Linked DNA regions of Homo sapiens: regions 1, 3, 4, 5 and 6 are each linked to region 2. The links are contacts of gene promoters, found by promoter capture Hi-C in blood cells and fetal thymus (Javierre and others, 2016). All regions are on one chromosome and are shown on one strand. The core of a region is centred on a gene start or on the middle of the fragment in contact, and the rest is flanking DNA. Distances in the headings are between cores, read along the strand shown. Region 1 overlaps KLHL28 (kelch like family member 28). Region 2 holds the start of FKBP3 (FKBP prolyl isomerase 3). Region 3 overlaps TOGARAM1 (TOG array regulator of axonemal microtubules 1). Region 4 overlaps KLHL28 (kelch like family member 28). Region 5 has its middle 15 kb from the start of DORIP1. Region 6 has its middle 36 kb from the start of MIS18BP1.

Evidence for each region. Contacts are between HindIII fragments. The CHiCAGO score rates a contact against its expected background, and 5 or more counts as called.
Region 1: a contact is called between a fragment that was not itself captured here and the fragment with the promoter of FKBP3 in region 2, in 17 of 17 cell types (non-activated CD4 T cells, activated CD4 T cells, naive CD8 T cells and 14 more). The highest score is 30.0, in non-activated CD4 T cells.
Region 3: a fragment that was not itself captured here is called in contact with the fragment with the promoter of FKBP3 in region 2 in 11 of 17 cell types (activated CD4 T cells, fetal thymus, non-activated CD4 T cells and 8 more); the score reaches 11.0 in activated CD4 T cells.
Region 4: a fragment that was not itself captured here is called in contact with the fragment with the promoter of FKBP3 in region 2 in 14 of 17 cell types (activated CD4 T cells, non-activated CD4 T cells, naive CD8 T cells and 11 more); the score reaches 19.8 in activated CD4 T cells.
Region 5: a fragment that was not itself captured here is called in contact with the fragment with the promoter of FKBP3 in region 2 in 3 of 17 cell types (non-activated CD4 T cells, total B cells and total CD8 T cells); the score reaches 7.9 in non-activated CD4 T cells.
Region 6: a fragment that was not itself captured here is called in contact with the fragment with the promoter of FKBP3 in region 2 in 3 of 17 cell types (monocytes, M2 macrophages and naive CD4 T cells); the score reaches 8.2 in monocytes.

The regions. Positions count from the first base shown.
Region 1 is chr14:44,930,230-44,934,703 of GRCh38, reverse strand. It overlaps KLHL28 (kelch like family member 28), which reads left to right. Exons shown (of 5, transcript NM_017658.5): 3 at 146-589; 4 at 3,163-3,371. Among named protein-coding and RNA genes, the nearest start is that of KLHL28, 29 kb to the left of the region's middle. The HindIII fragment of the contact is 1,071 bases long and covers 1,923-2,993 here.
Region 2 is chr14:45,132,260-45,136,642 of GRCh38, reverse strand. FKBP3 (FKBP prolyl isomerase 3) reads left to right here and starts at 2,162. Exons shown (of 7, transcript NM_002013.4): 1 at 2,162-2,294. The coding sequence starts at 2,187. FANCM (FA complementation group M) reads right to left here and starts at 713. Exons shown (of 23, transcript NM_020937.4): 1 at 104-713. The coding sequence starts at 611. RefSeq lists enhancers at 510-559, 1,222-2,092, 2,186-2,405, 2,093-2,964 and a silencer at 2,039-2,216. The HindIII fragment of the contact is 3,907 bases long and covers 1-3,471 here.
Region 3 is chr14:44,989,535-44,993,511 of GRCh38, reverse strand. The region is part of intron 1 of TOGARAM1 (TOG array regulator of axonemal microtubules 1); the gene reads right to left. Among named protein-coding and RNA genes, the nearest start is that of TOGARAM1, 29 kb to the right of the region's middle. RefSeq lists an enhancer at 3,527-3,646. The HindIII fragment of the contact is 7,515 bases long and covers 1-3,977 here.
Region 4 is chr14:44,946,588-44,950,848 of GRCh38, reverse strand. The region is part of intron 1 of KLHL28 (kelch like family member 28); the gene reads left to right. Among named protein-coding and RNA genes, the nearest start is that of KLHL28, 13 kb to the left of the region's middle. The HindIII fragment of the contact is 2,911 bases long and covers 25-2,935 here.
Region 5 is chr14:44,880,088-44,884,673 of GRCh38, reverse strand. No RefSeq gene overlaps it. Among named protein-coding and RNA genes, the nearest start is that of DORIP1, 15 kb to the left of the region's middle. The HindIII fragment of the contact is 2,600 bases long and covers 1,541-4,140 here.
Region 6 is chr14:45,286,692-45,291,152 of GRCh38, reverse strand. It overlaps the pseudogene DNAJC19P9. Among named protein-coding and RNA genes, the nearest start is that of MIS18BP1, 36 kb to the right of the region's middle. The HindIII fragment of the contact is 3,362 bases long and covers 1,367-4,461 here.

The sequences.
Region 1 (4,474 bases), core at 1,209-3,708, 200 kb after region 2:
TATATTTTTTGCCACTTTGGAAGGTGTGTCATGGTTTATTGTGCTTTTAATTTTTGTGTCCCTGATTACTAATAAGATTAAACATATCTGTCTTTATGGGCCACTTTGGTTTTTAAATTTTATATTTTTTCTGCTTATTCTTTAGTGTGGAGATGTACTTTCCTCAGAATGACTCTTGGATTGGTTTGGCACCCCTAAACATTCCTCGCTATGAATTTGGAATATGCGTTTTAGACCAAAAAGTATATGTTATAGGTGGTATTGCAACTAATGTGCGTCCTGGCGTCACTATCAGAAAACATGAAAATTCAGTGGAATGCTGGAATCCTGATACAAATACTTGGACTTCTCTAGAGAGAATGAATGAAAGCCGAAGTACTCTTGGAGTAGTAGTACTTGCAGGAGAACTTTATGCCTTAGGTGGTTATGATGGACAATCTTATTTACAATCTGTAGAGAAGTACATTCCCAAAATAAGAAAATGGCAACCTGTGGCACCAATGACGACAACAAGAAGTTGTTTTGCTGCAGCGGTATTGGATGGAATGATATATGCCATTGGTGGGTATGGTCCTGCCCACATGAACAGGTATTTAACTTAATAATTAAATTGCATATGTTTATGGATTTTTAAAAGTCTCATTAGCAATGATTTCTGAGTTTTAAACAATTTGTGTGTATGAATGAACTTCCGGCATTTGGGAAACTTAATCTGCTCCATGGATATAATTGTAATTGTTTTACATGGGAATTTAATACAAACCTAACAATCAAATCCCTCTCATTAAATTTTACATTCATTCACTATAAATGGACTAGATTTTAAAACTCAGAAACCTAAAAATAAGATGAAGTTAGACAACTTTAGATTTTGTGTGGTGTGTACATCTATGTGCACAGTATGTAAATTATCTTTTATTGTATTGCTTAATAGAATAAAGAAGTAGAAATTTAATTCCTGTGTGTCTATACAATATTATAGCACATCATAAACTTAAAACCTTATTTAAATATTCCTTTCTGAATTCTTTCCTGTAATCATACATGTATCATCAGGTATTTGACTTGTGCTGGAGTTTGAATTTGTGATATCTGTATTCTGTAGTTTTATCTGAATAAAGGAGAAATATATATGAGAAAATAAAAGTATGAAGTAACTAGTTATATGAGAAATTAATCGTAATTCTGAACCTTTATTGAAAATTGATGTTCCAAAGGTTTTATCTTTGGCCAGGTGTGGTGGTTCACGCCTGTAATCCTAATACTTTGGGAGGCTGACGTGGGAGGATTGCTTGAGCCCAGGAGGTTGAGGCTGCAGTGAGCCTTGAATGCACTACTACACTCCAGCCTGAGCAACAGAGTGAGACCCTGTCTCAAAAAAAAAAAAAAAGAAAGAAAGAAAAGAAAAGATTGTATCTTTAATAGTAATTAGAGTGGTTTGTGTTATTTTGATTGTGAGTATTTTAATGACAGGGCATACAGTCAGCCCTCCATATCCACGGGTTCTACATCCACAGATCCATCCAACTGTGGATCAAAAATATTTGAAAAAATTTACAATAATAAAAAACAAAATAATACAGTATAACAGCTATTTGCATAGTATTATAAGTAATCTAGAGATGATTTAAAGTATACAAGAGGATACGTGTAGCTTATATGCAAATATTATACTGTTTTATATAAGGAACTTGAGCATCTGCAAATTTTGGTATCCTTGGGATGGGGTGGATCCTGGAACCAATCCTCTACAAATACTGAGGTTTGTTGACTGAGAAAGTGATGGCACAACAGCATTTCATCTGTAAATTTTTACTTCTATTGAAGCCAAAGTATTCCTCCTTTTATTTATTTATATTTTTTGCCCTTAGTTGAAGGAAAAATATGGGACATAGACATGCATTTCTATTCTTTGAAAAGCTTCTGCCCAAAATTTGTAAGATAAAAGGTTAAGTATTTTAAATTTGATTATCTTGAAAGTCTTGCTGCAGTGCATCAACTCTTCTTCAATGATTTTGGTCTAATGGATTCTATCCTGGAGTTCTTTCAGAAACATTACCCAGTCTCTATTATGAACTCCAGAATGGTGTCACAGCCTGTTAAATGCTTATGGTTTTTTCAGGAAATAGGTTAGGGCCAGAACAAGCCCAACAATCTTACCTCTGTGCCTTTGTGCACCTTCAGAGGAAACCATAGTCTTAAACAGCTGCTAGAATTTTCTAGGGAAGCCTTTTTGAAAATTCTGATTTAATTTGGATTCCATAATGCAGCTTAGAAATGCCACACGTTCTCTGAAACACAGTCTTGACTCAAATTCCTGAGTACTCCTAAATCACCCTGAGATAATTATGATCAGCCAGTTTGTACTATGCAATCTACAGTGATTGCTTTGCAGTAAGCCACATGAATTCTCCTGTGACGAAAAAAAATAAAGGTTTTTCTCCCCACCCCCCACCCCTCTCTTCCTCTTCTTTTCCCCTTAACTGTATAGAAGATCCTAAAAACCTCTGTATTCAAGCCAGGCATGGGGGCATGTACCTTTAGTCCTAGCTACTCAGGAGGCTGAGGCAGAAAGATCACTTTAGCCCCGGAATTTGAGGCTGCAGTGAGCTCTGATCTTGTCACTGCACTCCAGCCTAGGTGACAGAGCGAGACCTGCCTCAAAAATAAATAAATAAAATTTAGGAACAAAAAAAAAAAGTCTGTATTCAGTTAGTGGTTTTCAAAGTCACGTGCATACTCATTTGACTTTATTCTTATATGAATCCCTTCAGGTTGCACTATCCTCATTTTTGCAGGTGAGAGGAAATGACTTATTCAGGATTACACAAATCCACAGCAGTAGGGTTAAGGTTCGTTCAGCCCTAGGTATACAGAATTAGTACTTGAACCCAGGTCTTCTGACTCCAAGTTCTATGCTCTTAATATACTTTGCCGCTTGCACAATATAATGGAATAGCATATGGAATTGCACCTTGTTTACAAGGTAAGCTTTTATCTTTGCAATCTTATCAGCAAAACCTAAGCATTTGTGGCAGACTACTCTTGTTTAATATCTCTCTATTATGTGAACTTTTAAAGCTGTAGTGGGTTTTAGTTTTGCTTTGACAGGAAGAATGACACAAAAGATCTGTAAATTAAATTTTTTTTAAATATTTGCAGTGTGGAGCGTTATGATCCAAGTAAGGACTCCTGGGAGATGGTTGCATCCATGGCAGATAAAAGGATTCACTTTGGCGTGGGTGTCATGCTAGGCTTTATTTTTGTGGTGGGTGGACATAATGGAGTCTCACATTTGTCCAGCATTGAAAGATACGATCCTCATCAAAATCAGTGGACTGTGTGTAGACCAATGAAAGAACCTAGAACAGGTAATAAGAATTTATTAATTTCTAAACATGTAAGGCAATGTTTTCTATAATGATGTGCTTGCAATAATAGTTCCTTGGAATATAGCAGTAGGAATATTACTTGTCCAGAAAAAAAAAAAAAAAGACTTGTATGTGGTAAACTTGAAAGACAATTAGCTAGACAAAAGTATATAGATTTCTTTATTGTGACTTTTATATGCCAATGTGCATATTATTGTTTCTCAAACTTGCTGAATACATTTTGGGAAATGCTTATACTAGAGTGTGTATTTATAGAAGCTCCTTTTGTCCATGTAACAAATGTCATCTTTTCATATGTTACATACATACAATCCTCGGATTGTTCTGTTTTGTTTTCTATTGTATATCAGTAATCTGTATGTTCACTTTCAAATGTTCTTTCTTCCCCAGGGGGTATAGTTGATCAAAAAGGGTTGTATTTCAGAGTTCGTAGAAACAAAACAAATCCACTTTTGTGGTTTAGGAAAAATTGTTATCTTTGAACTCAAACTCATCACATCATTTTAAGGGAAAGGTTTTAAGATACTGACAGAAATGCTTTAGGGAGCACTCCTCATACAGATTGAATATTTCCTATCCAAAATGCTTAGGACCAGAAGTGTTTCAGGTTTTGGATTTGGGATTTTGGAATATTTGAATTATGCTTACCAGGTTGATCATGCCAAGTTCAAAAATCTAAAGTGTGAAATGCTTAAGTGAACACTTTCTTTGAGCATCATATGGTGCTCAAAAAGTTTCAGATGTTGGGCCAGGCACGGTGTGGCTCACACCTGTAATCCTAGCACTTTGGGAGGCCGAAGTGGGAGGATCACTTGAGGTCAGGAGTTCAAGACCAGCCTGGGCAACATGTTGAAACCCCATCTCTACTAAAAATGAAAAATTAGCCTGGTGCGGTGGCACATGCCTGTAGTGTCAGCTACTCGGGAGGCTGAGGCATGAGAATCGCTAGAACCGAGATCGCGCCACTGCACTCTAGCCTGGGAGACAGAGCAAGACTCCATCTCAAAAAAAAAAGTTTCAAATGTTGGAGCACTTTGGATTTCATATTTTTTGGGTATTGGATGTTCAACCTATATTTATGA
Region 2 (4,383 bases), core at 913-3,412:
TTAAGAGGGAGGGCGTAAGATGCACATGTTGTAGCTTGGGAACTATTCCACATGGGTCAGGAATTCCCAGCTCTTACTTCAAAATTAGTCCAGTCTAAGATACCTGTCATTTCGGCCATGTGGGATTGCGGGATACCCATCACCTGGTAGCAAGCCTCGATCTGCTGTGTCACCAAGGGTTTCGTTGGGGCCATGAAGACCACCTTTCCTGAAGGGAACCAGCGGTAGAAATTGTACATGACCACGGCGGCAATAAAGGTCTTTCCCAGTCCGGTAGGCAGACACACCAGCGTATTGCAAAACAGAGCAGCCCGGGAAATGTGCAGCTGGTAGTCCCGCACTGGGCAATTGGTAGGGTAAATCCACAGGGCGCCCGCGGAGGTGCAGAACCCGCCATTCTCTAGACACAACTGCCGCTCAGCCTCGTACGCCGCGACAAGCAACACATCATCGTCCGACTCCAGCTGAGCCTCCGCTGCTGCTGGCAAAGGCGCCTTGGAGCTGCCAGGGCTCTGAGGTCGCTCAGTTCCGGAGCTGCAACCCGGAGTCCCAGATGATCGGGAGATACTTGAGCCCCACGTCTGAAAAAGCGTTCTTTGCCGTCCGCTCATTAGGCCGACAACCACCGAAGGCTTCTGTCAGATATCCGTAGCAGCAGCAGCTCAACCGCTACGGTTCCGATCCCCATCGGTTTCCTTCGCACAAAACTCTGGAACGAGAAGGCGGGACTAAGGCCAGTTTATCCAGTTGAAAATGCCGCTACTGAGTTTCCGTTGGGAATGATTGGCTGGCTTCCCGGAAACCTTCACAGCCCTGCCGGAGACTCATGCGCATTATTAAGGCGTTACTCTAAATATGGTCCCCGGTGCGGTTCCGGTGTTTTGTTTTAACAAACTCTAAATTTAAGTTCCGTTTCCAATGATTAGATGGCTGGGCGTCATTGCTAACGTGATAAATCACTTAAAATGTTATAATAGAGATTTATTGTAAAATATTACATACCCGGGGACAATGGAATAGCCACCAGTTTGGGAACTTAATGTTATTGAGCGTCTAACGTGCCTCATTCCTTGTACTTTTAAATCAGAATATAAAGTGAAAAGCAAAAATGTGTAGATGGAATAATTTGTCTTATATCTCTATCTGGGCTGAGAAAACAAAATGCCAAGTCTCTTTTTCACCGCGCTGGGAGTGGCAACCCATTATTTTAATATTTTCATTGTTTAAAGGGAAGTGAACGTGGTCTGGTCCAGCTATTCGTCAGAATTTTTTTTTTTAATGCTCCTTGCAAAGCAGAGCTAACTCATAGGCAACATGCCCAGAGTCAGCCTACATTTTTTTAAGTAAGGAGTCCTGATGTTCAACTATTAAATCTTTATTATAGGTAAGAGCATTATAATAAACGTCGGTGTGCAATTATTCCACTCTAACGAAGATTTCTGTCTCAAATAATTCCTGACTTCTCTCTAAACCTGACTTTGAGTAACCTCTGTAAATTTGTTTCCTCGTGTACTGAGAAAAAAATATACATCACAGAGTTACGAGCATTAATAATGTCATTCTCATCAGCAAGTGGCATCCTGAGTGCGGCTTCTTTATAAATTGTTTTATTTGTTAAAGTTTCTGAACTTCGTTTTGGACAAACTTTCTCGTATTTGTATGGGGGGAAGGGGATGGGCAGTTTGTATTTAAGTTTCGGTTGTGTGATCTTTAAAAGGGAAATGGTGGGATATGGGTTTTCGGATCGACAAGGACTGAAGCACTTCAGGTGTGACTTTTTAGGCTAGAACTAGATAAAACGAGATAAGGAGCCTGAATGCTGTTTTCTTTTAACAGGTTATAGACTGGACTTTAAAGGCATAGCTGCCTTAAATGTGGGTAATGGTTGATAAATGTCGCTACCATCAGAGGTCGCTTCACAAGGTGTCTAATTCAGAATCGAAGATCTCTAGCGGTCTTCTACTCAGTCGACTGCAGAGACGACCGCGGTAGGTTTTTCAACCCGGACTCAACAAAGAAGCCCTCATAGCACAGCCTTGACGTCACTCAAAGACAGGCCCCAATCCCGACTGCTAGAGCAGAGGCCCGCCCCTCGACCTCCGTGAGTGGCCCCGCCCCGCCCTAGGGGGCGGGGCGATGCCGAACTGCGGCGGGCTGGCTCAGTAAAGCGGAGGCAGCGGGGGAAGATGGCGGCGGCCGTTCCACAGCGGGCGTGGACCGTGGAGCAGCTGCGCAGTGAGCAGCTGCCCAAGAAGGACATTATCAAGTTTCTGCAGGAACACGGTTCAGATTCGGTACCAGAGGCGTAGGGGCGGCCGGGCTGGTGCGGCTGAGGGACGCCTCACCCCCCTGGAGATGCCCATACATTCCGTATTCCTCTGTGCCCCCGCCCTCGTCTTCCCGCGGCCGGTGGCCTGGAAGGCCGGAGAGGCCCAGCTTGTGCTTTGGTGCCTCGCTCCCGCCTCTCGGGCGTTCTCTACTGGGGCAGGGGAGCAGCTTTATTTCTTGGGGCACACAGGCTGCAATTGTAGAGTTAGAACCTCATTGGGATCCTTGAGTGGGGGTGGAGGCCAGAAAAATAGGAACCCGAGGATATTGGGGGCTAGGGCGGAGAGGCCGAGGAATAGTGGTGTGGATGAGACTCCTGGGAGCGGGGCGCCGGCTACTAGGGAAATGGGAAGGGATGTGAAGATTTCTGTGGGAACGGTGTATCCAACTTGCTTTTCTCAACAGTTTACTAAATACTGAACATTAATGCGTGTGATTTTTAAAAAATCCGTAGGTTGTGGTTTAAGTTTTGATTTAACATATCGACCCTTTAAATGACCTTTTCACCTTTATACTTTAAGGGAGCTACATGCACATTTCTCTTGTGCAGTGGTCTGTCATTGTTATAAACAGACTAAGAAATTTATTTGAAATGCTTTATACTGTAGGCTCTCCATTTGTCAGCATAGTCTCCATCTTAACCATCCGTCTATAGTCAAGTTATTTTTGTTACACTTGTTTTTCCTTTGGAAAATAAGTTCATTCATGCACCTGTTAAATTGCTGAAATAGTTGTGCACGCAGCATTCTCTTACAAGCGGCAGCCTGCTTGTGTTTTCTATACAATTTTTAAAATTCTAAACTTTTCATTTAGAAAAACTGTTTCTGGGTTTTTTTGTTTGTTTGTTTGAGACGGAGTCTCTCTCTGTTGCCCAGGCTGGAGTGCAGTGGCGCGATCTCGGCTCACTGCAACCTCCGCCTCCCGGGTTCAAACGATTCTCCTGCCTCTGCCTCTCGAGTAGCTAGGACTACAGGCGCGTGCCACCACGCCAGGTTAATTTTTTGTATTTTTAATAGAGACGGGATTTCACCGTGTTAGTCAGGATGGTCTCGATCTCCTGACCTCGTGATCCGCCCGCCTCGGCCTCCCAAAGTGCTGGGATTACAGGCGTGAGCCACTATTTCTGGGTTATTTTGAGAAGCTTATATTTTATTTTCATTTTGGGCGGGCGTCATGACAGGGAGATAGAAGAACTCTCCAACTTCCAGTGCCTTCTTCCTTAATTATTATCCTGGCATCCGCATCTTAGATTAATTTAGCAGATATTAATACAACATCTGTAACAAGAACTATTCTCAGTGTTTGGAGGTACAAGGGTGAAAAAGAACATGTGTCGGGGATCTTACCCCATTTTAATGGAACTATTTTCTCTTAAGCCAATTCGTATTTCATCTGAAACAATAGAATAGACATCATTAACATTTAATAATACCTCAGTCATGTACTTCATCCATCATATTCTTATGAAACAAATCATGCCATGTGGAATCGTATGTAAAACTGGGCCACGTGGAAGAATTTCAACAGACTTGGATTATCAAAATGTTTTTATAACATTAATCTTTTAAATGCATAGTCTCGGTCGGTCGTGGTGGCTCATTCCTGTAATCCTAGCACTTTCGGAGGCCAAAGCGGGCGGATCACGAGGTCAGGAGATCGAGACCATCCTGACTAACAGTTGAGGCCAGGCATTGAGGACCAGCCTGGCCAACGTAGCGAAACCTCATTTCTACTAAAAATACAAAAAAAATTAGCTGGGCCTGGTGGTGGGCGCCTCTAATCCCAGCTGTTCGGGAGGCTGAGGCAGGAGAATCGTTTCAACCCAAGAGGGGGAGGTTGCAGTGGGCCGAGATTGGGCCACTGCACTCCAGCCTGGGCGACAGAGCTAGACTCTGTCTCAAAAATTAATAATAATAATCTCCGGTGATCATTAACACTTAGACCTATACTTGACAATAATTATTTTATTAATCATAAGATATCAAAGAGATGTTTATGCTTTTATGCTTTGGGTATTTTCTGGAATCTTTAACAAGAAACCACCAGCATGCTAAA
Region 3 (3,977 bases), core at 238-2,737, 140 kb after region 2:
CTATTTAAAGCACCTGATTGATGACTCTCAGGAACATGGAACTGAATTTTCAACCTTTGCAGTTAATACCTAAAAATTTATTTAATTCCTTAGAGTTATAGTAAATTAAAACATTATAAAAAAGCAAGTTTCACATTTAATATTAATAATGGTTGGAAATTTACATAGTGTTATTTACTGTTTCAATCTTTTTTTGTTTTTGTTTTTGTTTTTGTTTTTGTTTTTGAGACAGGTTCTCACTCTGTTGCTCAGGCTGGAATGCAGTGGCATGATCATGGCTCACTGCAGCCGACCTTCCCCATCTCAGGTGATTTTCCCACCTCAGCCTCCCAAGTAGCTGGGACTATAGGCATGTGCCACCACACCCAGCTAATTTTATTTTTATTTTATTTATCTTTATTTTATTTTACTTTATTTTTTTATTTTTTGCCATGTTACCCAGGCTGAGCTCGAACCGTCAAGCTCAAATGATCTGCCTACCTTGGCCTCTCAAAGTGCTGAGATTACAGGCGTGAGCCACTACACACAGCCTATTATCTCTTAGTCTTTCTATTTGAATCCCTGCATATTTTTCATAAAAAGATTGCAAAAATTAGGCCGGGCATGGTGGCTCACGCCTGTAATCCCAGCACTTTGGGAGGCCCAGGCAGGCAGATCACGAGGTCAGGAGATCGAGACCATCCTGGCTAACACGGTGAAAACCCGTCTCTACTAAAAAATACAAAAATTAGTCGGGCGTGGTGGCAGGCGCCTGTAGTCCCAGCTACTCGGGAGGCTGAGACAGGAGAATGGCGTGAAGCCAGGAGGCGGAGCTTGCAGTGAGCCAGGATCGCGCCACTGCACTCCAGCCTGGGAGGCAGAGGGAGACTCATCTCAAAAAAAAAAAAAAAAAAAAAAAAAGATTACAAAAATTTACTCTTGTTTAATCCTCTGACCTAATGCATCCTATTGCAGCTTTTGGCAGGGAGTATTAAAGCATCTCAAAAATAGTTTTAATTCTATTTTGGTAGCAAAAAATTACCAGAAAAAGACCTTTTAATATCTAATTCTCTCAGAAATCACCTATACTCCTGGCTTTACTGAACTTGTACTAAACTTTATCTTGACCTCCAGTTTTTGAACCTTTCACCTTTTACCAGTTCTTTCTGGTTTCACCCAGACTCCACCCTTGCCCCTTAATGCTGGGCATTAAACAAGTTTATTCCCATTAACCACAGTTACCTTCTGTAAACATCACTGTATTTGTCTTTCAAATTATTTTCCTATGTACACTTTAGAAAAAATAGCTGTGATACTATATGTAAACTTTATATCCTGATTTTTGCACTTTACATTATAATAAAAGTACTTCCCATGCTGTTAAAACCCCTTATAAGTGCTATACTTTTTGGTGTTTTTTTTTTGGTTTGGTTTTTTTTTTTTTTTTTTTTTTTTTTTTTAACAGACAGGGTCTCACTATGTTCTCTTGGCTGGCCTAGAACTCATGGGCTCAAGGGTTTTGCCACTTCAGCTACCAAAGTATCTGGGACTATAGGATCACACCACCATGCCTGGCTATAAACTTTAATTACAAAAATAATAATTGCTTATTGTAAAAAATATAAAAAATACCAAAGTTATCAAAAGAAAAATTAAATTTAAAAAATGCAAACTATAGAAATAAGATATAAACTTAAATTATTCTTTGGGACCCTTCTCAGTAGAATCCTACTGATAAATCCTGTTAACAGGTCTTTTTCTATATGTAAACATTCTTCAATAAGCTATTTTAAAAAAAAAACAAAAATAAATCACATGATACTCTGGCACAGAGTAAATATGTAGACATCCTTCCATGTAAGACAATACATATCTGTTTATTTTAGACTCATAGTTCCTTACTGATGGACATTTTCTTTGCCACGACTTTTCACTATTACAATCTTGCAGTGAACATTGTTACACACATATCTTTGTGTATTATATTCCTATAGTATAAAAGTCCTAAAAACGGAACTATTGAGTCCAAGGACATAAATTATCTTTAATGGCTGCCTAATATTCCATTGACTAGATGTGCCACTCTCCTTTGATGGAACATTCAGATTGCTCCCCAGGCTTTTCTCAGATTGATAAGGAAAAAATTCCAATGAGGGAAATGGTACCTACATGGCTTAAGGTAGCAGTGCTGACAGAAGGAGACTGGCAGACTTTAGAAAGACTGTCACATATGCTACATAGCTAAAATAAAAAAAAAACAAAAACAAAAAACTAAGGCTGAGTGCAGTGGCTCATGCTTTTAATCTCAGCACTTTGAGAGGTGGAGGTGGGAGGATTATTTGAGCTCAGGAGTTTGAGACCAGCCTGGGCAACATGGCAAGACCCCATCTCTACAAAAAATAAAAAATTAACCAGGCCTGGTGTTGCATTCCGGTAGTCCCAGTAACTTAGGAGGCTGAGGTGGGAGGATCACTTGAGCCTGGGGGTCGAGGCTGCAGTGAGCCATAACTGTGCCACAGCACTCTAGCTTGGAAGACAGAGTGAGACCTTGTCTCCAAAAAAAAAAAAAAAAAAAAAAAGCCTCAGCTGGGTGTAGTGGCTCACACCTGTAATCCCTGCATTTTGGGAGGCTGAGGTGGGAGGGTCACTTGAGCCCAAGTCCAAGACCGACCTGGGCAACACAGTAAGACCCCATCTCAAAAACAAAAGAAAAAAACCCAAAGTGTTTTTTTTAAAATATCTGTAAACTGCCTACACAAAGGGAGAATACCCACACTGAACTCTCTGTAGCCGTCAGCTAACCACACCCATAAAATGTGCAAACAAAATACAGACTATTTAGCTATTTTGTGTGCAGTTTGTTTTCATACATGCTAAAAGTAAGGTAATCAGCTGAATCAAGGAAGAACCAGGACTGATCAAAGAGAGGAAAAAATATTGCAAACTGCATGCAAAATAACTAGTGTGTGAAATAACCAACTAAATGTCTCTGATTCTTTGTTTGACATTTATTTCTGTAGATTTCACTAATATATTGTCCCTCTGAGTCCAAACAGGAGAGTTAAACATGTGGCCTGAAAGTGCATCCTTTCTGAGACCTAGAGTCTTGAGTTCTCAGTTAAACTTTCCTCATATAAGTGACTGAGCAATGTGGCTCATGTGCCACAATATAATACACAAAGATATGTGTGCAACTATATTCTTGGCAAAGGCTGATTCTGACTGAGCACATGGACAATTGTGTTCACACAGACGGCAGCAGTGGGTGAAACTGGGTTTTGATTTTACGGTCTATTTGGTGATTTCTGCTGGATGATAGTATAGTCAGGTGGCACCTGGCAGGGAATCTAGAATCTGCTTTCCTTATTGTCTTTTCATTTATGTTTATGATATGGTTAAACTTTGTGTCCCTACCCAAATCTTGTCTTGAATTGTAATCCTCATAATCCCCACATATCAAGGGAGAGACTTGGTGGGAGGTGACTGGATCATGGGGACCATGTCCCCCATGCTGTTCTCATGATAGTGAATTCTCATGAGGCCTGATGGTCTTACAAGTGTCTGACAGTTCCTCTTTCACATATTCGCTCTCTCTCACCTGCTGCCATGTAAGATGTGCCTCTTCTCCTTCCACTATGATTGTAAGTTTCCTGAGGCCTCCCCAGCCATGCAAAACTGTGAGTCAATTAAACTTCTTTTCTTTATAAATTACCCAGTCTTGGGCAGTTCTTTATAGCAGTGTAAGAATGGACTATTATAGTTTATTGGTACTGAGGTAGTGAGGTACTGCTATAAAGACACTTGAAAATGTGGAAGTGACTTTGGAACTGGGTAACAGGCAGAGGCTAGAACAGTCTGGAGGGCTCAGAAGAAAACAGGAAGATGTGGAAAAGCCTGGAACTTCCTAGAGACTTGTGGTTTTGAACAAAATGCTGATTCTTTATAGTAGTATGAGAATGGACTAATACAGTTTTTTTTTTTTAATGTACTGATATAGG
Region 4 (4,261 bases), core at 231-2,730, 190 kb after region 2:
GATATAGTTGGCAATAACCAAGCTTTTTAAAGGTTGATGAACAGTAAAAATAAATAACGTCTACCAATTACTGAGTGCTTATGTACCAGCACATAGAAAGGCATATTTACAACTGCTTTTTATACAATTTTGTCTATTTTTTTACAAATGAGAAAACTGAAACTTTTGACTGAATTTCCCAAGGTCACATAATACAGACCATTGTATTGTAACCCGGGAAGCCTGGTACCAAAGCCCAGTCTCTTAAAACTATACTGCATATCATACAAATATATGCATGTGTGTATATTTATGTGTTGTGTGTGTACATACATGTATGTGTGTATTTACAGACCTATGTTGTGTCATTTTTGCGTGTCATATGTTGATGGTGTACCAGTTTTGAATTGGGTACACAAAAATTAGGTTAACAATATAGGATCTATCACTATGTGATTCCTAATTATATTAAAAATGAATCTAGTCAATACTTCATAACCTTGATTTGAGAATCAACAATTCTGTGATACTTGTGTTGCCCAGGGTATCAGAGAAGACAGAGTGGGTTTCTTATCTAATAGTGAGAGGTAGTGCAACATAGAAAGTTGACTACTTCTCAAGGGACAACTCGAAGAATTTACTAGTAATAACTCATATTTATTAAGAGCCTACTAAGTGATAGGCCCTATTCTGAGCCCTTTTTATGTATAAACTCGTTTAATCCTCAAAACAACCCTATATTATAATTATTATTCCTGTTGTTGTTGAGTAACCTTCATTCCTTGGTTTTTCATGTGATAACTCAGACCTCCTTTTTTCCCAGACTCAGTACCTCTGTTCCATTACCTGTAAGACATGATTTGAATTTCTGCTGTTCATCAGGTGTTACAGTCTGTTTAGATCCCTGTCAAAGGATGATACCCAAAATCTGTAGTACAGATATGGACTGACATTTGCAGAGCAAAGCAAAAATTTCTCCTCTGTAGTTCTGTATATTATAGTTCTGTTAATGCAGCTTAAACCCACATAAGTTTATGGTGTTAAAATAGTACTGCAATTAAAATCCCTAAACCTGTTAAACACGTTCTACAGATGCGTCTTTTCTCTCTTATTCTATACTTGGGTAGTTGGTTTGGAATCTGCTATAGAATTTTTACATTTATCCCTTTTAAATTTCTTCTTGTTAGATATAAGTCTTTCAGGATCCTTATTGTGTTAGTCAATGCTTTTGCTGTCCTTTGCAGCTTCATGTCATCTTCAAAGTTCAGGACATAAAATATCTTCATCTTGGCCTTACAGAATACCACTAGAAGCATCCCTCTAGGCCTCATTCCATTAAGTGGTATACTCTGGGGGGTATTTGTTCCACTAGTTGCTGATTTAGCTAACTGAACTAGCTTATATATTTTTTTAGTTTTGTTCTTTGAAAAATCATGAAGGGCATTATAAAATTATTTACTAATATCTAGTTAAATATCAAGTCTACTTTTCTGATCTACAAGTCTTCTAAATAAATTTTTAAAAAGAAACAAACCTAGTCTGTAACATGTCTTATTATTTTTAGCTCATATATCCTAATCCTAAAGATCTCTACATCTTCTTATCGGTATTCACAAGTCAAATCTTTAATAATTTGTTTTAGAATGTTATCTGAAATTAACAGAAATCTTACCATATTGTAGAATTTACTGTCTTATTTTTGAAAATAGTCTTCAGTCCTGTGGCACTGGTAATGATTCAATAATCTCATTTGCAGGCTCTTTTAAATATCTTGAAACATAATTGTTTAGTCTGAGAGAGAGATGAATTTACAAAGTGACTAGGTCTCCTTTTTCAATCCCTTCTCTTATTTTTCGCATACATTTTCCTTTTCTGTTGTTCATCCTTCACTTTTTAGTCTACCATTCTCCTTGTTAAATCAGAAAATGAGAGTTGAAAGGGGTATGTTTTACAGAGCAACACGTATAATTGAATTAATTGCATGTAAAGGGATATAGTAAATAAATGCTTATAGACGTCCAGGTAAAGTTAATTTTTGATCTTGAGTTTTGAGAATTTGAATTGGAGGAAAGGAAGATCAGAGGAGAAAGGTTATAGACAAAATCTAACGTGTGGTAAGAAAATATTTGGGAGATAGCAAGTTTTATATAGAGCTATAGTCATTACATGAGCATCATAAGAGTAAAAGGTCATTGTGGGAAAGAATGGGAATTAGTGAAAGTGGGGATATTGGGAAGTGGCAATTTAGTACAGTGAGACGTAAGTACTATATTCTTAACACCTCAAGCTGTATATTTTGTAGAACTTTATACTTTAGAGAATCACTTTCAGGTAAACTTCTGAGATAAGTGGGGTATTCTTATTTTATGAATGAAACAATTAATACTTAGATTAAGAAAGGCTGGTACCTATTATTCCACCTAATAATATAATTTAAGATTCAGATGGGACTAAAACTCATTACCTTATATTTCCAAAGTCTGTGTTCTTCACTGATATGTTTTATCTCTATCGCCTCACTGCTACCATAGTACTACTGTAGTACAATATCACTTACAGTTTATCATGTTTTTATGTACATTGTCTGATTTGATCCTCAAAAACCTCAGCTACATTAATACCTGAATAATAAAGTACAGGTATTATTATGATCTCATTCTGCAAATAAGGAAAACAAAGATTGAGAAGGTAAAGTTAACGAGGACTGCTTTCTTAACCCCATTACCTATTTTTTCTATCTACTTGCCTTTCCTGTTATTCATTCTTTACTTTTAAGTCTAGATTTTAACTTTTTCATAAAACTGAGGCTAAAAGAAGTTACATAGGTTAAAAAGATCAACACTGGAATAACTAACAGAACGTGTACAGATCTAAACTTATGCCTTCTGATTGCCATCTACTTACTAGTATATATTATGTTCTGGAAAAAAAGTACCTACTGGAAGACCCAGAAGCTTCTTGGGACTTGTTTATACCATGACTGCAATAACATTTGAGAATTTTTCTAGTAGATAGGTGTGAGATTATTTGCAGAGATCAGCAGTGGAGGCTGTTACCAGCTGGAAAGTGGCCATATTAACATAATTTATTAACTGACTTAAAATTCATTGTGAAATAAGTATGAAACAATTACGTACTTGACAAAGATAAAAATTTCAAGAGTTGGATTTTTTCCACTTAAAAATGTATAAGAATGAAGTGCTATACTCTCTCAATAGTGTTCAAAATGTTTGAATTTATAGAATTGATGGTTTTAAGATGGAAACCAAATGTACTTTTTCGTTATTGCCATAACTTGTGATTGAAATGTGAGTGAGACAGGAAGGAAATAGCTTATATTGTATACATGACCTGTATTCCTTTTGTCTACTCTAAGCAGCTGCTACAATCCATTCTGAAATATCCATGTATTAATTCTTAAGGTTACTGTAACAAATTACACAAACTCAGTTGCTTAAAACAAAACAAATGTATTCTCTCACAGTTTTGGAGGCCAGAAGTCTGAAATTTGTGTCAGTGGGCTAAAATTAAGGTGGCAGGACCATGCTCCTTCCATAAGCTCTACGGGAGAATCTGTTCTTGGCTCTTCTAGCTTCTGGTGACTGCCAGCATTCCTTGGTTTGTGGCTGCAGCACTCTAGTCTCTGCCTCTTTAGTCACATGACCTCCTCTTCTGTCTGTGTCACGTCTCCTTCTGCCTTCTTATAAGGTACATGTTGATTGCATTTTGGGCCCACTTGGATAATCCAGGATCTTGTCCCCATCTCAAAATTGTTAATCCTTTCCAAAGTCCCTTTTTGCCATATAAAGTAATATTCACAGATTCCAGGGATAGGGATGTGAATGTCATTTGGGGAGCCATTATTCTGCCTACCATAGTCTTTATTGTCTCTCCACTTTCTTTTCTTTCTCATCCCTTTTCTTCCCTGCTATTTTTATTCTTTTTCATCTTCCAGAAGCACAAAGTGGCAAGTAGATTGAGTGGGCATGATCTGAATTAATGATCAAGAGTTGAGGCCGGGTGTGGTGGCCCATGCCTGTAATCCCCGCACTTTGAGAAGCCGAAGCAGGTGGATCACTTGAGGTTGGGAGTTTGAAACCAGCCTGGCCAACATGGTGAAACCTTGTCTCTACTAAAAATATAAAAATTAGCCAGGCATGTTAGCAGGTGCCTGTAATCCCAGCTACTTGGGAGGCTAAGCAGGAGAATCATTTGTAGCTAGGAGGCAGAGGTTGCAGTGAGCCAAGATCATGCCCCTGGACCCCAGCCTGGGCGACAGAGT
Region 5 (4,586 bases), core at 1,591-4,090, 250 kb after region 2:
CTTCAGTATACTGATTTCCTTTCTTTGGGGTATATACCTAGCTGTGGGATTGCTGGATCATATGGTAGCTCTATTTTTAGTGTTTCTTTTCTTTCTTTCTTTTGTTTTTTTTTGAGACAGGGTCCCACCCTGTCATTCAGGCTGGAGTGCAGTGGTACCATTTCGGCTTACTGCAACCTCCACCCCCTGAGGTCTAGCGATCCTCCTGCTGCACCTTCCCTAGTAACTGGGACTACAGCTGTGCACCACTATGTTCAACTAATTTTTGTATTTTTTTTGTAAAGATGGGTTTCGCCATGTTTACCAGACTCATCTCAGACTCCTGGACTCAAGTGATACACCTGCCTCGGCCTCCCTTCTCCCCATGCCTGGCCTATTTTTAGTTTTGTAATGATCCTCCAAACTGTTCTCCATAGTGGTTGTACTAATTTACATTCTCACCAACAATGTAAGAGGGTTCCCTTTTCTTCACATTCTTACCAGCATTTGTTATTGCCTGACTTTGCATAAAAGCCTTTTTAACTGGGGTGAGATGACATCTTACTGTAGTTTTGATTTGCATTTCTCTAATGATCAAAGATGTAGAGCACCTTTTTATATACTTGATTGCCATTTGTAAGTATTTTTTGAGAAATATCTAGTCAGGTCTTTTGCCCAGTTTTAAATCCGATTATTAGATTTTTTTCCTATAGAGTTGTTTGAGTTCCATATACTGGTTATTAATCCATTGTTAGATGAGTAGTTTGCATATATTTTCTCACACTCTGTAGGTTGTCTCTTCACTTTTTTGATTGTTTCTTTTGCTGTGCAGAAGCTTTTAAACTTGATGTGATCCCATTTGTCCATGTTTGGTTTGGTTGCCTGTGCTTGTGCTTACTCAACAAATATGCCCAGTCTGATGTCCTGGAGAGTTTCCCTAGTGTTTTCTGGTAGTAATTTCATAGTTTGAGGTCTCAGATTTAAGTCTTCAGTCCATTTCGATTTGATTTTTGTAGATGGTGAGAGATAGGGATCTAGTTTTATTCTTTTGCATGTGGATATCAAGTTCTCCCAGCACCATTTATTAAAGAGATTGTACTTTCTCCAGTGTACATTCTTGGCAGTTTTGTCAAAAAAGAGTTTATTGTAGCTGTATGGATTTATCTCTGGGATCTTTATTCTGTTCCACTGATCTATGTGTGTATTTTTATGACAGTACCGTGTTGTTTTGGTTACTATAGCTCTGTAGGATTATTTAAAGGCAGGTGATGTGATTCCTCCACTTTTTTTTTTTTTTTTTTTTTTTTGCTTACAATAGGTTTGTCTATTCTGAGTCTTTTGTGGTTCCATGTAAATTTTAGGATTGTTTATTCTATTTCTGTAAGGAAGGTCATTGGTATTTTGATAGAGATTACACTGAATCTGTAGATTGCTTCGAGTAATATGGACATTTTAACGATTTTGATTCTTCCAATACATGAACATGAAATATCTTTCCATTTTTTTGGTTTATTCTTCAATTTCTTGCATTAATGTCTTAATAGTTTTCATTGTATAAGCTTTTCACTTTTTTGTTTAATTCCTGGGTATTTATTTGTAGCTATTGTAAATGGGACAGCTTTCTTGATTTCTTTTTCAGATTGTTCAATGTTGGCATATAGAAATGCTTCTGCTGATTTTGTATGTTGATTTTATAACCTCCAACTACTGAATTTGTTTATCAGTTTTAATAATTTTTTTGTAAAGTCTTTGGTTTTTCTAAATATAAGATCATAGCATCTGCACGCAAGGATCATTTGAACTCTTGATTTGCAATTTGGATCCCCTTCATTTCTTTCTTTTCTGATTGCTCTAGGTAGGACTTCCAGTACTACGTTGAAAAAAAGTTGTGAAAGTGGGCATCCTTGTCATGTTCTTGATCTTAGAGGAAAGGCTTTCAGTTTTTCCCCATTGAGTATGATTCTAGCTATGGGTTTGTTACATATGGCTTTTATTTTGTTGAGGTATGTTCCTTCTATTTCCAATTTTTTTGAGGGTTTTTTTTTAATCTTGAAGGGATGTTGAATTTTATCAAATGCTTTTTCAGCATCAGTTGAAATGATCATATGGTTTTTGTCCTTCATTGTGTTGATATAATGTATCACATTAATTGATCTACATATGTTGAACTATCCTTGCATTCCTTGGCAAACTCTACTTGGCTGTAATGAATGACCTTTTTAATGTTTTGTCAATTTTGCTTTCCTAGTATTTTGTTGAGGATTTTTGCATCAATATTTATCAGTGATATTGGCATATAGTTTTCTTTTTTTTGATGTGGTGTTGTCTGGTTTTGGTAACGGGGTAATACTGGCCTCATAGAATGAGTTTGGAAGTAGTCTTTCCTCTTCTATTTTTCAGAATAGTTTGAGTACGATTAATATTAGTTCTTTAAATGTTAGGTAGAATTTAGCAGTGAAACTATAAAATCCAGGGCTTTTATTCACTGGGAGTCTTTTTATTATGGCTTTGATCTCATTACTTGTTAATGGTCTGTTCAGGTTTTAGATTTCTTCATAGTTAAGTCTTTGTAGGTTGTATGTGTCCAGGAATTTATCCATTTCTTCTAGCTTTTTCAGTTTTTGGCATATAATTGCTCATAGTAGCCACTTATGATCCTTTGAATTTTTGTGGTATTGGTTGTAATGTCTCCATTTTCATCTCTGATTTTATTTATTTGGGTCTTATCTCTTTTTTTATTGGTTAGTCTGTGTAAGGCTTTGTTGATTTTGTTTATTAAAAAAAAAAATAGGCCAGGAGCAGTGGCTCATGCCTGTAATCCCAGCACTTTGGGCGGCCAAGGTGGGTGGATCACCTGAGGTCAGGAATTTGATACCAGCCTGGCCAACATGGTGAAATCCCATCTGCACTAAACATACAAAAATTAGCTGGGTGTGGTGGTGCACACCTGTAGTCCCAGCTACTTGGGAGGCCAAGGCAGGAGAATCGCTTGAACCTGGGAGGTGGAGGTTGCAGTGAGCCGAGATCCTGCCACTGCACCCCAGCCTGGGCAACAGAGCAAGTCTCCATCTAAAAAAAAAAAAAAAAAAAAAAAAAATCAAATGACTTTTCATTGATTTTTGTACTGTTTTCTTCACTTCAAATTCATTAATTTCTGCTCATATCTTTATCATTTTTTTCTACTACTTGGTGTTTGCTTTCACTTTTCTAGGTTTTTAAGGTGCATCATTAGGTTGTTTATTGAAAAATTTTCTTCTTTTTTGACATAAGCACTTATAGCTATAAACTTCCCTCTTAGTACTGCTTTCTCTATATCCCACAGGTTTTGGCATGTTGTGTTTCCCTTATTTGTTTCAAGAAATTTTTCAGTTTCCTTCTTAATTTTTTCATTGACCCACTGGTAATTCAGAAACATATTGCTTACTTTCTGTGTGTTTGTATAGTTTCCAAAATTCCTCTGGTTATTGATTTCTAGTTTTATTCTATCATAGAGAAGATGCTTGCTGTTATTTCAATTTTTTGACGGTTTTAAGATGTGTTTTGTGTTGTAACGTATGGTCTATCTTTGAGAATTATCCATGTGCTGAGAAAAAGAATGTGTATTCTGTAGTCATTGGATGAAATGTTCTGTAAATATCTATTGGGTACATTTGTTCTAGAGTGCAAATTAAGTCCAATGTTTTTGTCTTGATTTTCTGTCTGGAAGATCTGTCCAGTGCTGAAAGTGGGGTGTTGAAGTCTCCAGCTAATACTGAATTTGAGTCTCTCTCTCTCTTTAGCTCTAATAATATTTGTTTTACATAGCTTGGTGCTCCAGTATTGGGTGCATGTATATTTAAAATTGTTATACCCTCTTGCTGAATTGACCCCTTTATCATTATATAGTGATCTTCTTTGTCTCTTTTTATAGTTTTATCTTGAAATCTATTTTGTTTGATATAAGTATAGTAACTCCTGCTCTTTTTTTGTTTTCCATTGGCATGGAGTACCTTTTTCTATCCATTTATTTTTTTAGTCTACATGTGTCTTTATAGGTGAAGTGTGTTTCTTGTAGGCAACAGATCAATGTTCTTATTTTTATATACAGTTAACCAGTCTATGTCTTTTTTTTTTTTTTTTTTTTTTTTTTTTGAGATGGAGTCTCACTCTGTCACCCAAGCTTAAGTGCAGTGGCATGATTTTGGCTCACTGCAACCTCCACTTCCTAGGTTCAAGCAATCCTCCCACCTCAGCCTCCTGAGTAGCTGAGACTATAGATGTATGCCACCACACCTGGCTAATTTTTATGTTTTTAGTAGAGATGGGGTTTCACCATGTTGGCCAGGCTGGTCTTGAACTCCTGACTTCAAGTGATCTGCCCACCTCAGCCTCCCAAAGTGCTGGGATTACATGCATGAGCCACCCAGCCCAGCCTCAGGCTATGTCTTTTGATTGGAGAGTTTACTTCATTTACATTCAATGTTATTATTAATAAGTAAGGTCTTACTCCTGCCATTTCATTATTTGTTTTCTGGTCTTTGCTTTCTTCTTTCCTTTTTTCTTGTCTTCCTTTTAGTGAAGGTGATTTTCTCTGGTGGTATGATTTAGTATCTTGCTTTTTATTTTTT
Region 6 (4,461 bases), core at 1,798-4,297, 150 kb before region 2:
TTTCAGTTACCCTACATAGATGAGACTGGGCATGTTCAGGTTCGTATGGCTGTAGACATCAGTTACTCTACATAGAATTACTCTTTTCTCTGTTCTATCACTGTAGTAGCGCTTAATACATTGTACTCTAATTGATTAACATCTCTGAATCTTCAGCTCGATTACACCCTTAGTCATCTTTTTAACCCCATTACTTGGTACACTGCTGCCAAGCACTTATCATCACTCTGTTTTTCTCTTGGAGACAGAGTCTTATTCTGTCACCCAGGCTGAAGTGTAGTGTCATGATCATGGCTCACTGCAGCCTCAATCTCCCAAGCCCAAGTGATCCTCCTACTTCAGCCTCCCAAGTAGCTGAGACAACAGGCATGTGCCACCCTGCCCAGCTAGGTTTTGGTTTTGCTTTTGCCTTTGCTTTCACTTTTTAGTGACTGGGTCTCTCTATGTTCAGTGTTGGGTCTCTCTAGGCTGGTCTCAAACTCCTGAACTCAAGCAATCCTCATGCCTCAGCCTCCCAAAGTTCTGGGATTACAGGCATGAGCCACTGTGCCCAGCCAATTTACTGCTATTCTCACTAGATGTGTGTTTCTATTCCTGGGTTCTCTATTTTTGTATTAGTTTCTGGATTAGCTGGACTTCATCTGACTAGAGTTTTAAAAAAAAAAATTCTTTTTTTTTTAATTGTAGCTCTGAGGCATTTTATTATAAAAACTTAGTACTCATATATATAAACTAATATGAACTTAAAATTCATCATACATTTACTTCATTTTTTAGCTTGACCTTCTAGTAAATCTTTAGCTTCATTGATTTTGGCTGCTATATAAGGAGATCCTCCTTTGTCAGGATGATTTGAAAGCATAATTCGTCAGTGAGCATCTCTTATTTTCCCTTTATTGGCAGTAGGGCTTACACCTAGTATTAATGCTGCTTCCCGTTTTGTCATTTTGGGTTCAAACCCACCTCTATAATAGCCACCACTGAAGGCAGATTTTGGTAGGCTTTGAAAAACTTGTTTTACTTGAGGCTCCATATGCTTCATGGCTTGCAAAACATAACGGCCTGCAAATCCTGCAGCAGCAATGGTCAGTCCAACTGCTACCACTGTACTGGCCATGGCTTCGGCTGGGCTCCCTTGCTTCCACCAGGAGCACAGCTCATCCCAGCTCAGAGGGTGTGGCTAACACCTGCACGCCTCTACCAGAGAGCAACGCAACCCCTAAAAAAAAATTCTTAAATGTTTATCCCCTGAATACTTTATATTTGAATTATAACATAGATGAATATAATATTTTGTCCAAGAATGTGGTGGACACCTCTATTTCTTCCAGTGCTAAATGTTTCTGTAAAAAGTCTGACACAAGCTTGAATTTCCCCTTGTTAAGTAACTTGCTTTTTCTACTTGATGTCTGAAGAATTCTTTTTTGTTGTTAAAATCTTGATGCTTGGTAACATACAGGGCACTTCTCAATGTTGGTAATTCAGTATCAATTTTTCCTATTAGACGTGTGTGCTTTATTATGAAAGAGATTTTCCACTATTATATCTCTGAATACTTTTTCTCACCATCTGTTGTCTACTTCAGAGATGCCTATTGTTTTGTCAGTCATCCATGTCTACAGCCTCTTCCTAATTGCCTTCATCTCCATCTTGCTTCTCATTCACTGTAACTTATGCCTTTTTTCCATCACATTAATTTAAATTTTAACTATGTCTCTTCTGCTTTTTATTCTTTTAATATATTTATTAGATTTAAAATTCTGCTTTACATCTGAGTTTCCTTGACCTTGCACTTCCCTTTTAATTTCATTCTGTTGTTTTATATTCTTGTCTTTTAAACTTTCATTTCACTGAATTTCTATTTGTGAAAAATTCTTCTACAGCAAGAGACATTAACAAGGAAACAGTTTCTGTTACAGAAATTATTATTTTTCTTTTCCTTTTTTTTTTTTTTGTTGACAAGGCTGGAGTACAGTGGCGCGATCTCAGCTCACTGCAACCTCTGCCTCCTGGGTTCAAGGGATTCTCCTGCCTCAGCCTCCCAAGTAGCTGGGATTACAGGCACCCACCACAATGCCCGTCTAATTTTTTGTATTTTTAGTAGAGACAGGGTTTCATCATGTTGGCCAGGCTGGTCTCAAACTCCTGACCTCAGGTGATCCACCCGCCTCAGCCTCCCAAAGTGCTGGGATTCTGGGATTACAGGCATGAGCCACCACACCCAGCTTTCTTTTTTCTTTTTTCCTTTTTTTTTTTTTTTTTTGTTTAGGCAGGGTCCCACTATGTCACCCAGGCTGAAGTCTAGTAGCATGATCGCAGCTCACTGTAGCCTCCAACTCCTGGGCTCAAGTGATCCTCCTACCTCAGCCTCCCGAGTAGCTGGAACTACAGGCATGCACCACCACCTCCAGCTAATTTTTGTACTTTTTGGTACAGATGGGGTTTTGCAATGTTGTCCAGACTGATCTCAAACCCCTGAGCTCAAGGTATCCTCCCACCTCGACCTCCCAATGTGCTGAGATCACAGGCATAAGCCACTGCGCCCGGCCAGAAATTATGATTTCTTATAGATGATTTCATCATTTCTCTTTCACATGTATGTTTCTCTCAGTCTCTCTCTGACTCTGTCTCTTTACATTTGTCTTTTTCTGTAGTATTTTTGCAGAGTTTTATGCCATTTCCTTTCATCTTGCATATGCTTATATAGGCAACACTGTACAGACATTATTTGCTCTAATATAGTGTGTTTTGCAATCATTTTTACTTGTTTATACACAGTCTTTCATAAAGGTCATGCCAGAAGATTTAACTCTGCTAATGTCTGTAAGAAGAAAATAAAAAATAATCCTTTTAAACATGACACAGTGCTACACATATTACACTGATTTACTGTAATTTATTTATGGTGGGCACTAAGATGTAGTGGTTAGGAGAGCCGGCTCTGGGACAAACTGTGTAGGTTTAAACCTGTATATCTTGGACTACTAAATCATTTAATCTATCTAAGCCTCAGTTTCCCAGTCTCTAAATTGGGACTAATAAGAACACCCAATCTCATTGTTAGGGGGAACAAATGAAACAAAGCATGAAAAACACGTAGGAGGCACTTCATATTTGTTAAATTAATAAATGAATACATATTCTCCAAATAAAACTTTTAAACATTACAATATATTTTCAGTTTCAGTTTGAATAGCTTGATTCTAAATTTGGCTAAATTTATGAATCAGTGCCTTTATTAGTTTTTGATACAAGTGCAGCTGTCTCATGCAAAGATGTACGTTTTAAACAGCAGCAATATTTTTGCTTGATGCCATTGAGAAATTCAAAGAGGCGGCTTGCCATCTAGTGGAAACCTGTTAAATTCCAATGCTTCTTCTGAGTCTGGCAAATTCATAGATTAAGGTAAATTGTTCATTTTAATATGTTCTAGAGAAACTTCCTTTATATACCTTGTTTGTGCACATTTATAGGAGGGAAATGCCCTGTGGTAGAACAAAATAATAATACTACTAACAGTAATAATAATCAACTTGAACTGTCCTCTGATCGAATGGGATTGGCTTTACAAGATAACATATATTTCATAGCATTCTCAAGTCAGACTTGAAACAAAATTCCAGAAATTAATTAGCAAGAGAAAAGGCATACTTGTTTAAGAGATGTCAGAATTTCTTTCACAGTGCTCATGTAGAAAGGCCATGAATGGCCGGGCACGGTGGCTCATACCTGTAATCCCAGCACTTTGGGAGGCCGAGGTGGGCAGATCACGAGGTCATGAGATCAAGACCACCCTGGCCAATATGGTGAAACCCCGTCTCCACTAAAAATACAAAAATTAGCTGGGCGTGGTGGCGCATGCCTGTAGACCCGGCTACTCGGGAGGCTGAGGCAGGAGAATCACTTGAACCCAAGAGGTGGAGGTTGCAGTGGGCCAAGATCGCGCCACTGCACTCCAGCCTGGCAACAGAGTGAGACTCCGTCTCAAAAAAAATAAAAGAAAGAAAAAAAAGAAAGGCCACGAATATAAATGGCCTCATGCTCCCAGGTCTGTTTCTGATTTTAAGGCCCAATTTCTTTGTTTCCATGAGTAACTTCCTTTTCTTCTCCCTACATTTATCTTTTTTTTTAATATAAAAGCCTGATCAGAAACTTCCAACCTATTTCGTCCTCCTAAAGCATTTCCTTTTACTATCAAAAGATATCCTAAACAATGTTCTTTTTTCTTAACAGATTGGCAGGTTTAATAAGTATTTCTGGGTTAAATATTATTCCTTTAATCACCACAGAGCTAAAACCCTGAAGTAGCCAAGTCTTATGAAACTACCCCATATCTCAAGAAACAAATTACACTGGCAGGGTCGTGAGCTGTGGCAATGATGTACAATTCTTGGGTCAAAAAGGTAACCAATCTACATGTTGAGTAAGGTCCTCTCTCTAAAAAGGTTCAAACTTGACAAA